Linked DNA regions of Homo sapiens: regions 2 and 3 are each linked to region 1. The links are contacts of gene promoters, found by promoter capture Hi-C in blood cells and fetal thymus (Javierre and others, 2016). All regions are on one chromosome and are shown on one strand. The core of a region is centred on a gene start or on the middle of the fragment in contact, and the rest is flanking DNA. Distances in the headings are between cores, read along the strand shown.

Region 1 (4,836 bases), core at 651-3,150:
TGTATTTTTTTGTAGAGACTGGGTTTGGCAACATTACCCAGGCTAGTCTCAAACTCCTGGGCTCAAGAGGTCCCCTCCCCCCAACTCAGCTTCCCAAAGTGCTGGGATTACAGGTGTGAGTCACTGCGTCCAGGCTAAGTAAAAATATTGATCAATGAGGCCAGGCATGGTAGCTCATGCCTGTAATCCCAGCATTTTAGGAGTCTGAGATGGGGGGAGATCTCTTGAGGCCGAGGATCGCTTGAGCTTGGGAGTTCAAGACCAGTCTGGGCAACATGGCAAAACCCCATCCTACAAAAAAAAAAAAAAACAAAAATTAGTCGGATGATGTGGTGGGGCACGCCTGTAGTCCCAGCTACTTGGGAGGCTGAAGAGGGAATATCCCTTGAGCCTTGGAGGTTGAGGCTACAGTGAGCTGTGATCCCACCACTGCACTCCACTGGGCCACAGAGAAAGAAAAAAAAAAAAAACAAGCTGGGCACAGTGGCTCACGTCTGTAATCCAACCACTTTGGGAGGCTGTGGCGGGCAGATCACTTGAGGTCCGGAGTTTGAGACCAGCCTGGCCAACATGGTGAAAACCCATGTCTACTAAAAATACAAAAATTAGCCAGGCATGGTGGCGCGAGCCTGTAATCCCAGCTACTCAGAAGACTGAGGTGAGAGGAAGTCTTGAACCCGGGAGGCCAGAGGCTGCAGTGAACCGAGGTCACCCAACTGCACAAAACAAAAGACGTCCTGGCGCGGTGGCTCACTCCTGTAATCCCAGCACTTCAGGAGGCCGAGGCGGGTGGATCACTTGAGGTAAGGAGATCGAGACCAGTCTCGTCAATATGGCGAAACCCCGTGTCTACTAAAAATACAAAAATTAGCCGGGCGTGCTGGCGGGCCCCTATAATCCCAGCTACTCGGGAGGCTGAGTTAGGAGAATCGCTTGAATCCGGGAGGCAGAGGTTGCAGTGAGCCGAGATCGCGCCACTGCCCTCCAGCCTGGGCGACAGAGAGAGACTATCTCAAAAAAAAAAAAAAAAAAAAAAAGAATTCCCTAAGCTACTCCACAATGCCCAAACTACGTCTCCTGTCCTATCAAGACACAGCCCCATACCAAACACAAGCAACCTTTTCGGGAGCCTACGGCCGTCCCCCTCCAGCCTCTCCGAGCCTCTCAAGATTCCCATTTGAGATAACTTGCTCCAAAACTCCTCAAAACCCGCATTCTCTCAGACTGGCCCGCCCGTGAGCTCCCACAAGAGTGTAAGCTCCCGTCTGTCCGGTTGGCCAGTCCAGTCTCCCCTGTGTGCAGCACGGAACCAGGTCCCATACCCTCGAATGAATGAACTGCGTCCCTCACCTCACCCTTTCCACGTATCCCCAGCCCCTCTTATCCCCTAACCGCGATCAAACCCCACAATCACCGCTTTCGGGCCTCGGATTTCCTGAGTTTGAATTCTCCCGCTCTCTCAGGACTCCCCAACGCCCCCTTCAGAGCTCCCATCCTTCGGAACGGCCCTCCCAACCACTTCCCAGACCTTCCAGAAACATCCCCAATCAACTCCTCCAGTCCCCCCAAGAGAGAGACGATCCCAGAGCACAGAATTCCCGCCTCCTCCCTTCAAATCACACCTTCCCGCTCCTTCCGGGCCGCAAACGCCTCAGAATAGACGCCCCCTCCAGACCCTAGCGGCCTCAAGCCGCGCCGGCCCTGACCGTTTCTGGGCCTCCAGTCCCCACAGGCGGATCTGCCGGTCATACTGTGCCGCCTCCTCCTCGCTAATGCCGCCGCCAGCCTCCTCCTTCTCCACCATGGCGCCGGCTCTTCCTGCCTCAGCTCCGGTCCCGCTCAAGCCAACCGCCCGCCGGACCCGCGCGCCACCTACCGCCGCCGGCAGCACGCCCGGAGTGCTTCTGCGCATGCGCAGACCCTCCCACGCCTGCGCAGTACCTCGTCCGCGGAGCCTGGGACCAAAAGTACCTCACGAGACTCAAAGGCGATCCGGCGACTGCATGTCACGTGACGGAGGGTCCAACCAATCCTAGCCCCAAAAATGGCGCGGCTTAAGGCCCCGAGGGCGTTGCCCACGTGGTCACTTATGTGGCACTTAAATTCTGCAAATATTTAAGGAGTGCATACTGAGATCCCAGCAATAGGGATGTTGTAAAATAACGGTATTGAGTGAAATCGACAAAGCCCTGTCCTCATGGAGTTTACGATCCAGTGAGAAAAGCCCGAAGAGAAATAAATATAAACCCAGCGATGATAAATGCTTTGGAGAAAAATAAAGCAGGACATGGGGCTACAGAGTAACAGGGGTGGTCAGGGAAGGCTTATCAGAGGTGACATTGAACTGTCAATTTTTTTTTTTTTTTTTCATAGAGATGGGGTCCCTCTGTTGCCTAGGCTGGTCTCCAACTCCTGGCCTCAAGCCATCCTCCCGCCTCTGCCTCCCAAAGTGCTGGGATTACAACCATGAGCCACTGTGCCCAGCCTTTCATGTCCCTACTATGTGTTGCACTTTGTGCCCAGCCCTGGACATACAATAATAATAAAAATGAACACATCTCTGCCTTAGAGGCAGTCACGGCCCAGTGGGAGAGAGGAGCGTTAAGAAAACAGGAATAGGCCAGGCACGGTGACTCGCACCTGTAATCTCAGCACTTCGGAAGGCCAAGGCAGGCAGATTACTTTAAATCAGGAGTTGGAGACCAGCCTGGCTAATGTGGTGAAATCCCGTCTTTAGTAAAAATAAAAAAATTAGCAGGGCATGGTGGCTCACACTTGTAGTCCCAGCTACTTGGAAGGCTGAGGTAGGATAATTGCTTGAATCCGGGAGGCGGAGGTTGTAGTAAGCCAAGATCATGCCTCTGCACTCCAACCTGGGTAACAGAGCAAGACTCTGTAAAAAAAAAAAAAAAAGAAAGAAAGAAAGAAAGGAAGGAAGGAGGGAGGGAAAGAGAGAGGGAAAGGAAGGAAGGAAGGGAAAAAAAAAAAAAACCAGGGATGGCCCCAGGTGGTCAATATAGGGAAACGCTATCTCTATTAAAAATACAAAAATTAGCTTGGTGTGGTGGTACTGAGTCTATAGTCCCAGCTACGTGGGAGGCTGAGGTGGAAGGATTTCTGATGTTAGAATCATAGGCTTTTTGGCAGGGCACAGTGGCTCATGCCTGTAATCCCAGCACTTTGGGACGCCAGGGAGGGCAGATCACGAAGTCAGGAGTTCGAGACCAGCCCGGCCAAGATGGTGAAACCCCCATCTCTACTAATACTAAAAAATTAGCCGGGCGTGGTGGCACACGCCTGTAGTCTCAGCCAATTGGGAGGCTGAGGCCGGAGAATCGCTTGAACCTGGGAGGCAGAGGTTGCAGTGAGCCAAGATCCTGCCACTGCACTCCAGCATGGATGACAGAGACTCCCGTCTAAAAAAAAAAAAAAAAAAGCCACCATGCCCACCTAACTTTTGTATTTTTAGTAGAGACAGGGATTGCACCATGTTGGCCAGGCTGGTCTCGAACTCCTGAACTTGTGATCCACCCGCCTCGGCCTCCCAAAGTGCACGGATTACAGGTGTGAGCCACCATGCCTGGCGGAATCATAGATTTTTATTTAAGAATTGCTTAGGCCGGAGGTGGTGGCTCACGCCTGTAATCCCAGCATTTTGGGAGGCAGAGGTGGGCGGATCACGAGGTCAGGAGTTCGAGATCAGCCTGGCTAACATGGTGAAACCTTGTCTCTACTAAAACTACAAAAAATTAGCCGGGCGTGGTGGCAGGCGCATGTAGTCCCAGCTACTGAGGAGGCTGAGGCAAGAGAATAGCATGAACCTGGGAGATGGAGCTTGCAGTGAGCCGAGTTCGCGCCACTGCACTCCAGCCTGGGCAACAGAGCAAGACTCCGTCTCAGAAAAAAATAAATAAATAAATAAATAAATAAATAATAAGAATTGCTTAGCGCCCGGCATGGTGGCTCATGCCTGTAATCCATGCGCTTTAGGAGACTGAGATAGGAAAATCACTTGAAGTCAGGAGTTCATGACCAGCCTGGGCAACATGACAAGACCCCTGTCTCTACAAAAAAAAAAATTTTTTAATTAGCTGGGTGTGGTGGTGCGTGCCTGTAATCCCAGCTACTTGGGAGGCTAAGGTGGAAGGATCCTTTGAGCCCAGGCGTTAGAGGCTGCAATGAGCTATGATGGCACCACTGCACTCCAGCCTGGACAACAGACCTTGTCTCAAAAAAAAAAAAAAAAAAAAAAAAGCTTAAGATATTTTTCAGATCCTGAATTCCAGCAAAACAGCTGATACCAACCAGTGTGAAGACCCCGCAGAGGAACCAAATCGACAGGAGAATAGAGTTTCTTCAACTCCCTGTTTCATTACTTCACCCTGCACACTTCAACCAACCAATGACCTCCACACTTCAACCCACTCCAAAACCCTTAAAAAGCCCCGAACTCCCTGGGGAAGTGGATTCGTGGTTCCTTCCATCTCCTCTCTTGGTTTTCAGTGGCCCCTATGATTAAACCTCTTTCTCTGCTGCAACCTGGGGTCTCCTACTATTGACTTGCTGCAAGCATTGGGGGGAAGGACCTATTATGATGGAAAAGCTTTCAATAGGCCAGGCACTGTGGCTCATGTCTGTAATCCCAACACTTTGAGAGGATCACTTGAGGCCAGGAGTTTGAGGCTGTCAAACACAGCCAGACCCCGTCTCTACAAAAAAATATAAAAATTAGGCCGGGCACAGTGACTCATACCTGTAATCCCAGCACTTTGGGAGGCATGGACGGGAGGATCACCTGAGGTCAGGAGTTAGAGACCAGCCTGGCCAACATGGTGA
Region 2 (4,790 bases), core at 731-3,230, 470 kb after region 1:
ATCATAAAAGAGGGAATTTCTTGTATGATCTTCTGGGCCTTGGCTTTTAGGGAGCCAAGGTCTGTCTGAGAGATGAGTATGAATATTAGAGCTAGGTCTTGGAAGTTGGTAGAGGCAGGCTCGGCGTAGTGATACAGATTGGCCGCCTGAGGGTGCCCCAGCCCTGCTTGCGGAGCCTGGAGAGACAGCAGGAAGCCTTGGAAACGAATGTCAGGCTCAGACTCCTAGGACCAGAGAACGTTGAGAATAGAGCATCATAGAAGGCTGAGAACAAAGCCCCTTAGAACGTAGAACAAAGGCCCCTGGAATGGAAGAATGATGAGCACACATCCTCCTAGCACCTGGGAGACAAAAGCTGCTTAGACTCTCTTCTGGTCAAAGCATAGAATCTTCCACCCAGGGTCTTATAATTCCAGAATTTGGAATGCAATCGATCTTAGACTCTTAGCAGCAAGACCGGCTACATATTTGGCCTAGTGCAAAGTGAAAATAAGGGGCCCCTTGCTCAAAAACTAAAAATTTCAAGACAGAAATTGCAGAACATTCAACCAAGCGCGAAGACCCTTCTAAGTGGATTCCAAGCCGGTGAAGCCGGCCCTAAGTAGAAACAATTTCATCGGAGGACGTCCGTCTGGTTTTACAGCTGAGTGTCTGGGAAGGCTTCTTGGAAGAGGAGGCGAAGTCAGGGCTCGACCCCCTAACCCTTTTCTCCCCCTGCGCAGCCTCAGAAGCTGAAGGTTGGGCGGGGTGGAGGGGTAGGAGCAGCTGCCAAACTGTCACGTGTACCCATTCCCTATTTATAGATCACCCTTCCCCTCGCGCCGGACAGTCCAATGGTAGCCAGCGCTCGCCCGCAAGAGGGTGGAACCTGCTGCAGGACCGGCCAGGCACAGACCAATGGCATTGAAGCAAGGGCGGGCTTGTTTCATTGTGACGCGTGGGGGGGCGTGGCCAGGGCCCCGAGGCAGTTGCACGGAGGGGGCGTGGCGAGCGGAGTGAGTAGGCAGTTGCGAGCATGCGTCGTGTTGGGCGGTGCGGTTGCACGCCCGAGAGTCTTCGTCAGGAAGCTTATTCGCCAATAGGCGGCTGTTGCTCGGTCGCCGGGGGCGTGGCCATGCAGATAAGGCGCGGGTGGGCGGCCCAATGGGCGGGCGCCTATGCAGATGAGACGGTGACAGCCCGGCCAGCGGGCGGGCGGGCAGGCTGCTGGGGCGGGGAGGTGGGACCGGGAGAGGGGTGGCCGCGGGGCCCGGCCGGGCTGGGGCGGGGGGCCGCAGCCATGATCCGGGCCTTCTCGTTCCCGGTGAGCCCTGAGCGGGGCCGGCTGCGGGGCTGGCTGGAGGGTAGCCTGGCCGGGCTCTGCGAGTTACATTGGCTCCGGGAGAGGCAGGAGTACCGCGTGCAGCAGGCGCTGCGGCTGGCCCAGCCCGGAATGGGGGGCGCCGAGGCCGAGGACGAGGAGGACGCCGATGAGGATGAAGATGCGGCGGCGGCGCGCCGGGCCGCAGCGGCCCTGGAGGAGCAGCTGGTAAGGGGCTGCCTGTCCGTCCGTCCCTCCACCCCCGTCTGTGTCTGTCTGTCTCGGTTGGATGCTCAGACACCGGGCGGGGGTTGGGGACCCGGGTAGGCAGGGAGTGAGAAAGGACAGGGGGTGGGGCTGGCGACCCCGGAGTTCCGGCGGCGGGCCGGACCTGGCCTCCCCGCCCCCAAATCGGGGGAGGGGGAACTGCATCGCCCCCACTGGGGCCTCGTGAGAAACACAGGCCCTGTCTCTTACACCCCTTCCCCAAAGAAAATCCTTGTGGGCGCCAAGTATGTGTCAAACCCGAGACCGGGTACTTTGCAGGCGTTGTCTTCTTGCGGCTTGGGAAACGGGGTGATAGTCCCCATTTAACAGAGAAACAAATTGAGGCTCAGAGAGAGCAAGCGACTCACCCAAGGTGACACAGCCAGGCTCCAAACATGCCCTTCTCTGGGCCCCGCCACCAGGGCTCCATCTTCCCTAAGTCCTGGTGTGCTTGGAGATCTCTGGAGGGGGCGGGGTGGGAGGAGGGGAATCTCAGGGCCTCCAGAGGGAGGGACCACTGCTGAGAGGAAGCTCACAGTCCCTGAGGACCCCCCACTGGGATCTTGACCCTTTGGTGACACTTCCCCTGCTTCCTACCTGGCCCCAGCTCTCCTTGACCCAAGGGGAGGCAGGTCGAGGCAGCGCCTGGGGGAGACTTCTGGACTCTGGGTGTTCTCATGGTGGAAGATGGGCAGAGGTCTCCGGAATGACTTGAGGACGCCCCATGCCTCTCCCCTTTCTATGTCATTCCTTGAGTCTCCCGATCTCGTCCTGGGTTCTGTCACTCTCTCCGTCCTGCCACATCCCTGTGACTTTCTGTGTCTGCTTCTCTTTCTTCATCCTGTCTCTCTGTCTCTGTGATCTCTGTGTCCCTCTGCATCTGTCTCCTTGGCCTTCCCTTCCTGCCTGTCTGCACCTCGCTCTCTTCTTCTTGCCCGACGTCCCAGGCTCAGTCTGTCTTCCCCTCCCCCCAGCCCGCACACCCTGGCTCCACGGCAGATCCCCATCCCCAAGCCTGTGTGTGGCCAGAGCTTCCCGTTTCGGGAAACCTGAGCCGAGGTGGCAGTGGAGGGGGCTCTCCCCGCCGCTGACCTCGACCGCCCCCTCCCCAGATGGGGAGTGGGGAGGAAGACTGAAGCCAGGCTCCCGGGGCTGCACGCCCGGCCCCTCCCCCTCTCAGGAGTGGGACCCCCCTGCACATTCTTTTCTGGAAACAGAAACAGCTGTGGGAGGCCCCACCCCCTCCCAAAGTTAGAGACGGATTGTGGGGGCCTTCGCTAGCTCCCCCCACCCCAAGCTGGCTCGGCTTGGAAGGCGCCTTCCATCCTGACAAGGAGAATGCGAGGCATGAGGTTGGGGTAGCTGTGGGTAGCTGTGTCCTCTCCCCCTCTGCCCTCGGTCTCTCCCCTTTTCACCCTTCACCTTCCCCATCTCTGCCCTTCAGTCTCCCTCTCCTCGGTCCCTCTGTCCCCTCCTCCCCCTCAGCCCTCTGTCCTCCCGGCACGAGCTGATAGTGGAGAGGCCTGTCCCCCCACCCCCCAGTCTCTAGGCAAAGCTTGTCCCAGCATCAGGGAGGAGGCGGTGGCAGGCGGGGGGAGGAGGAGGAGCAGAGAAGCGCTAAATATAAACTTCTCTAGTGCTGGGGGTTCCTGGGTCCCTCTGAAGAGTGGATTAGGGCTTCTTCTGATCCCCCAACCCTTGTCTTATGACTTATCCCCCCACCCCCAGCCCCTGCCAGGAATACACTTCCTTCAAGGCAAGAAAGACTGAAGCCAGACTTGATTACTTTCTAATAGGAATGATGGGGATACCAGGTAAAGATCAGGGGTGTGGCAGAGAAGAGAGGCAGGAATCCTGGGTGAGGGCAGGGGCTCCCTGGGTCCTGCTTGCTCTCAAGAAGGAAAAAGGTTCCTTTCATCAAGAATAACTTAAGTTAGACTTGCAGAATGACTTCCTAATAGAGATAAATGGGCACTGGATACCAACGAGGGGCACGTGAGGGGAGAAACAAGGTAAGGGAAGTTTGGGCAAAGGGGTCTCCAGGGGTCCTAACCACACTCTTATTAAGCCTGCAGAGGAAGGATGAGGGGCACCGTGAGGAGGCAGAGAGCCAGACTCAGGCCAAGGACTTTCTAATCTTTTAAAGATTCATCCTTTTGCAACTGGAAGGAATGAGGCCAGACTTGCAAATAGAGGGGTGTAGACTTGGAATATTTTTGGGGGGCGTCTAGGTGCTGGAGAGGAGGAGGCATCTCCTGTCTGTCTCCCTAATTTCTGCTCTTCCTTGTAATGGAAGAACCGGAATTAGACTTGGCAGAACTTACCAAAAAGTCTATCCTTTCACGTTTATTTATGTATTTTTAAATGATATATTTATTTATTCATTTATTTTTGGAGACAAAGTCTCTCAGGCTGAAGTGCAGTGGCACGATCATAGCTCACTGCAGCCTCTAACTTGGCCTCAAGCAATCCTCCTGCCTCAGCCTCCCAAGAAGCTAGGACTACAGGTGCACACCGCCACATTTGGCTAATTTTTTTTTTTTTTTTAAAGATATGAGGTCTTGCTATGTTGTTCAGGCTGGTCTCCAACTCCTGGGCTCAAGCAATCCTTCTGTCTCAGCCTCTCAAAGCACTAGGATTGCAGGTGTGAGCTACTGTACCTGGCCTTTATTTATTTATTCATTGAGACAGAATCTTGCTCTGTCACCCAGGCCAGAGTGCAATGGCACAATCTCTGCTCACTGCAACCTCCACCTCCTAGGTTCAAGTGATTCTCGGCTCACTGCAACCTCCACCTCCTGGATTCAAGCAATTCTCCTGCCTCAGCCTCCCGAGTAGCTGGAATTACAGGCATGCACCATCACCCCTGGCTAATTTTTGTATTTTTAGTAGAGATGGGCTTTCACCATGTTGGCCAGGCTGGTCTTGAATTCCTGGCCTCAAGTGATCCTCCCGCCTCGGTCTCCCAAAGTTGTTGGGATTACAGGCGTGAGCCACTGCGCCCGACACCTACATTTATTTTTAATTAAACAATGGAAACATTTTCTATTTTCCTTATAAGAAATTCATAGCTTTCCTGTAATCATACAAACTGGCATTTATTATGTGTCAAAAGAAACTCATTGGCCGGGCGCGGTGGCTCACGCCTGTAATTCCAGCACTTTGGGAGGCCGAGGCAGGCAGATCACAAGGTCAGGAGATTGAGACCATCTTGGCTAACGTG
Region 3 (5,010 bases), core at 564-3,063, 510 kb after region 1:
AACAACAAAAAAGAAACTGAGGCCTGGAAGGGACAAGGGTTTGACTGTGGTCCCACTGGGCATGGGAGCAGAGGGGACTTCCTGAATGTTAACCGTCCTTGTAACAGGAAGCGAGAGAGGGAGTCTCCGGGAACCAGAGGCCCCCCCGATGCCGAAACAAGATGCACGCCTGCCAGGCATCATCCTTCATTAATATGATATAACTTCCTGAGTTCCCTCTGGTCTGTCTGGGGACCTCACGGCATGAGGCGGGACAACGTGGCAGGACCTGGAGCCCACATGTACAGGCACCCCCAGAGCAGGGCTGGGGGGTCCCTTAGGGAGCCACGGTGGGGCTGGAACTTGGGCGTCCATCCTGCTGGAAGCTGCGGGTGCCAGCTGGGCAAGGGTGATAGGGAGATGGGGGGGAGGGGCAAAGGGGTTGTGGTCACACACCGGGGTACAGAGGGCAAGACGGCAGCTGCCCACAGTCCAGTCCTTGGGTTGGACACATCCCTCCTGGCCTTGGACAAGAGACACCCGCACAGCCTCTCTCCTTGTTACAAAGACCAATCTGGGATGTGCTGCAGGCCGAGGCTGGCCACCAGGTCCCTGAGGCCCGTGTTACCCCACGCACAGAGAAGGAGGCTGAAGTCTACCAGCTCCCTCTCCTCACCTGGGACCATCTCGCAGCAAGAAAAAAGGTGGTCAGATGGAAACAGGAAGCCAAGTCGAATGGATCTGAGACCGTCCCCCTGAGAAACAGCGGGGCTCAGAGAGGGTCTCTGAGGTTTTATCTGGCCCTTTTGGGCTGGGAGGCTGCCTGGGAAGCCACCGACTCCGTGGGAAGGGAGACCCGTGAACGCTGTGCGGGTAGCGGGAACATGTGGGTCTGTCACACTGGCCCGAGGCTGCAGCGGTGGTGGCTTGGCTGTGTTTGGGGAGGGTGGGGGACACATGGCAGCAATGTTGGAGCTGTGGACAGCTTCCTGTGATCAAAATATGATTCCTGAAGGTCAAGGTCACCAGAGCTTGGCCTGGGGCCTAGGGGTGCTGTGCGAGAAGTCGGACGGTGGCCCAGTGCTACCTTTCCATCATGGGCCATGGAAGTCTCCCAAGCCTGTCCCTGACAACTGGACACCAAATACACCCCTTCATGCTTTCTTCTCGGGTCTCTGCAGGGTGAGCTGGGTGCCCAGGGACAGGCTCGAGGGACTGGCATGTCTCTCTCTGGCCAAGCCTCCTTCCTCAGCTTTCTGGAAGGAGTGAATTGTGTCCAGGGACCAGAACTCTCAGTGGTGTCTGGAAAACACTACATCAGAGAGGAATTTCCTGGTCATTTCTCAATCCCTGGGCAATGTCCTCAGCCCCGGGGCCTGGAGCCCAGAATAGATCCCAGAGGCCACCCTGAGACAGCCCAGGCCAAGACCACCCCACTGAAGCCTGGTCAACTGTGCTCTTCAGGTCCCTCCTAGAGGCCCCCTACTACCCCGGGAGGCTCCAAGCCTAAGTGATGGTGACTCAGGAATTCCCCACCCAGGCCAGAGAGGGAGACACTGGGGGAGGGAGGAGACCTGTGTGTGGGGAGGTGGCAGGTGGCTCAGTGATGGGAACCAAGAGAGGATGTGGGGAGGAGAGTGGAGGCAGCGATGGGAGATGGATGTCCTGGATTGGGCGGGTGGACGGGGAGTGGGGAGTGTGCCAGGGGGCCCTCTGGAGAACAGTGAGGGAGGGCGGGGCAGAGAGAGGAAATGAAAAAGCTGGGGTGAGCAGGCAAGCTGAGGAGGGTGGGAAGGAGGGAGGGACGGAGGGAGGAGGGAAGGAGAAGCTGACACACAGACCGACACAGGCAGCGAGAGACACGAGGAGCAAAGCAAGTGAAGGCACAGACGCACGGGACAGGAGAGCCTGGGCAAGACTGGAGAGGTGCGGTGAGGGGCTGGGGATGCAGCAACACAGAGCAGGAGCAGGTAGAGGGTGTGGGGTTAGAGGGAGAAAGGTACGGGGAGGACAAGGACAAGGGAGGGGACAGAGACAGGGAGATATCAGCAAGAGACCGAGAGACAGGGAGGGAAAGAACTGGCAATGCCCGGATGTTCTCTGTCTCTTTAATGGCAGAAACAGAGCTAGAGAAGGAAAGAAACAGGAGGTGGTGGGGGGGTGGTGGGTGTCAGGCATGGTGGCTCACACCTGTAATCTCAGCACTTTGGGAAGCCAAGGTGGATGGATCACCTGAGGTCAGGAGTTCGAGACCAGCCTGACCAACATGGTGGAACCCCGTCTCTACTGAAAATACAAAAATTAGCTGGGCGTGGTAGTGGACGCCTGTAATCTCATCTACTCCAGAGGCTGGGGCAGGAGAATCGCTTGAACCCAGGAGGTGGAGGTTGCAGTGAGCCGAGATCATGCCATTGCTCTCCATCCTGGACAACAGAGTGAGACTCTGTCTCAAAAGAAACGAAAGAAAAGAAAGAGAGAAAGAGAAACAGGAAGGTGGGGAGAGACAGAGAGAGATACTGGAGAAGCCAGAGGGGAGAGGACTGCATACCCGCACACACAGGAGAACTGGGGGTTGGCTGGGAGGCCCCAGCTGCCAAAAGGACTGGCCAGCAGGGACATCTGAGTGGGCTGGGTGGTGGGGGTAGCCCTGGCTCCCTCTGACCCCCCACCTTGGGAACCCTCCAGCCCAGACCTGGGATGGCGGATTCGTGCAGGAACCTCACCTACGTGCGGGGCTCGGTGGGGCCGGCCACCAGCACCCTGATGTTCGTGGCCGGTGTGGTGGGCAACGGGCTGGCCCTGGGCATCCTGAGCGCACGGCGACCGGCGCGCCCCTCGGCCTTCGCGGTGCTGGTGACCGGACTGGCGGCCACCGACCTGCTGGGCACCAGCTTCCTGAGCCCGGCCGTGTTCGTGGCCTATGCGCGCAACAGCTCCCTGCTGGGCCTGGCCCGAGGCGGCCCCGCCCTGTGCGATGCCTTCGCCTTCGCCATGACCTTCTTCGGCCTGGCGTCCATGCTCATCCTCTTTGCCATGGCCGTGGAGCGCTGCCTGGCGCTGAGCCACCCCTACCTCTACGCGCAGCTGGACGGGCCCCGCTGCGCCCGCCTGGCGCTGCCAGCCATCTACGCCTTCTGCGTCCTCTTCTGCGCGCTGCCCCTGCTGGGCCTGGGCCAACACCAGCAGTACTGCCCCGGCAGCTGGTGCTTCCTCCGCATGCGCTGGGCCCAGCCGGGCGGCGCCGCCTTCTCGCTGGCCTACGCCGGCCTGGTGGCCCTGCTGGTGGCTGCCATCTTCCTCTGCAACGGCTCGGTCACCCTCAGCCTCTGCCGCATGTACCGCCAGCAGAAGCGCCACCAGGGCTCTCTGGGTCCACGGCCGCGCACCGGAGAGGACGAGGTGGACCACCTGATCCTGCTGGCCCTCATGACAGTGGTCATGGCCGTGTGCTCCCTGCCTCTCACGGTGAGTCCCCTCCGGAGCTGGGAGGAGTGGGGAGAGGAGGAGGGCAGCTCTGTGGGTTGTGCCCATGTCACAGATGGGGAGACTGAGGCTCAAAAGAGGTGAGACATCGTGGGCATGGTGGCTCACGCCTGTAATCCCAGCATGTAGAAAGGCCGAGGCAGGACCGGATGCGGTGGCTCACACCTGTAATCCCAGCACTTTGGGAGGCCGAGGCCGGCGGATCATTTGAGGTCAGGAGTTCGAGACCAGTCTGGCCAACATGATGAAACCCTGTCTCTACTAAAAATACAACAAATAAATAAATAAAAAGTAGCCGGACGTAGTGGCACATGCCTGAAGTCCCAGCTACTTGGGAGGCTGAGCCAGGAGAATCGCTTGAACCCCGGAGGCGGAGGTTGCAGTGAGCTGAGATCGTGCCACTGCACTATAGCCTGGGTGACAGAGTGAGACCCCGTCCCAAAAAAAAAAAAAAAAAAATAAGAAAAAAAAGAAAAAGAAAGGCGAGGCAGGACGATCACTTGAGCCCAGAGGTTTGAGACCAGCCTGGGCAACATGGTGAAACCCCATCTCTATGAAACATTTAAAAATTAGCCTGGCATGATGGCCTGTGCCTGTGGTCTCAGCTACTTGTGAGGCTGAGGTGGGAGGATTGCTCCGGCCTGGGAGGTTGAGGCTGCAGTGAGCTGTGATTATACCACTGCATCCCAGCCTAGCTGACAGAGCAAGACCTTGTCTCAAAACAAAAACAAAGAAAACAAAAACAAATCAGACAGAGGCTTGGTCCTCAGTCAGACAGCTCCTGGCTTTCTGGAGGGGTCTTTCTGCATCTGACTTCTTCTGATACCTTGTCTCCCAGCTTAGGCATCCTGAGCCCCCCATGATGAAATGCATCCCCCATCCTTCCCCACCCCTGTAATGACAAGACCACCACTCATTGAGCACTTCTCTATGCCCGCCCCGTGCTTAGTGGCTTACAGATACTTCCTAAGATAATTTTCAAAATGATCATAGCCACCCATTCCACAGTATTTGGCAGGAAACCAAGAGAACGTTCTCTCCCATCCCCGTTTTTACAGATGAGGGGCAGTGTCTTTCGCCCAGTCACACAGAGCCAGGTCCTGGTCCTGGGTCCTTCCATTGTAGAGCCTGATCTCCCACCTACCTGGCTCCCCTCTGCCTCAGAGCAGGCCCCACCCTTGCCTCTGCACCTCGGTTTCCTGCGGGGACCCCGTCCTGCCCCTCCCCAATGGGAGTGGCACAGACCCTGGTACCCACTCAGTGTCTGTGACACCTGGTCGTGCCACCTTTCTTCTGAGCTTCAGTTTCTGTTTCTGTAAAATGCAAGAGGCCAGGCCGGATTGGGGGGTCCTTAAATCTTTTTTGGGGGTTACTCTGACTCAGAGACTCAGATGCCGTGGACAGATACACACAGGCACCACCGCAGCTCTGCGGCAGTTTCAGGGGGCCCAGCCGGGTGGCGCCACCTTCTTGCAGGGACGTTATACTCAAAAATCTGTGGAGCCCGAGGGTCCTCCCAGCTTCCAAGGGTGGGGGGACCCACATACC

What was found. The method cuts DNA at HindIII sites, captures the fragments that hold promoters and counts their contacts. A CHiCAGO score of 5 or more calls a contact.
Region 2: the fragment with the promoter of DACT3-AS1 here is called in contact with the fragment with the promoter of SAE1 in region 1 in 5 of 17 cell types (total B cells, non-activated CD4 T cells, naive B cells and 2 more); the score reaches 8.3 in total B cells.
Region 3: the fragment with the promoter of PTGIR here is called in contact with the fragment with the promoter of SAE1 in region 1 in 1 of 17 cell types (total B cells); the score reaches 5.7 in total B cells.

The regions. Positions count from the first base shown.
Region 1 is chr19:47,127,899-47,132,734 of GRCh38, reverse strand. SAE1 (SUMO1 activating enzyme subunit 1) reads right to left here and starts at 1,900. Exons shown (of 9, transcript NM_005500.3): 1 at 1,707-1,900. The coding sequence starts at 1,804. RefSeq lists enhancers at 1,580-1,819, 1,512-2,126. The HindIII fragment of the contact is 6,112 bases long and covers 1-4,257 here.
Region 2 is chr19:46,657,554-46,662,343 of GRCh38, reverse strand. It overlaps DACT3-AS1 (DACT3 antisense RNA 1), which reads right to left and starts at 1,980. Exons shown (of 3, transcript NR_040042.1): 1 at 1,936-1,980. It overlaps DACT3 (dishevelled binding antagonist of beta catenin 3), which reads left to right and starts at 1,162. Exons shown (of 4, transcript NM_145056.3): 1 at 1,162-1,528. The coding sequence starts at 1,280. RefSeq lists silencers at 785-904, 1,115-1,364. The HindIII fragment of the contact is 2,055 bases long and covers 1,070-3,124 here.
Region 3 is chr19:46,621,892-46,626,901 of GRCh38, reverse strand. It overlaps PTGIR (prostaglandin I2 receptor), which reads left to right and starts at 1,813. Exons shown (of 3, transcript NM_000960.4): 1 at 1,813-1,905; 2 at 2,665-3,444. The coding sequence starts at 2,677. RefSeq lists an enhancer at 1,098-1,598. The HindIII fragment of the contact is 25,896 bases long and covers 1-5,010 here.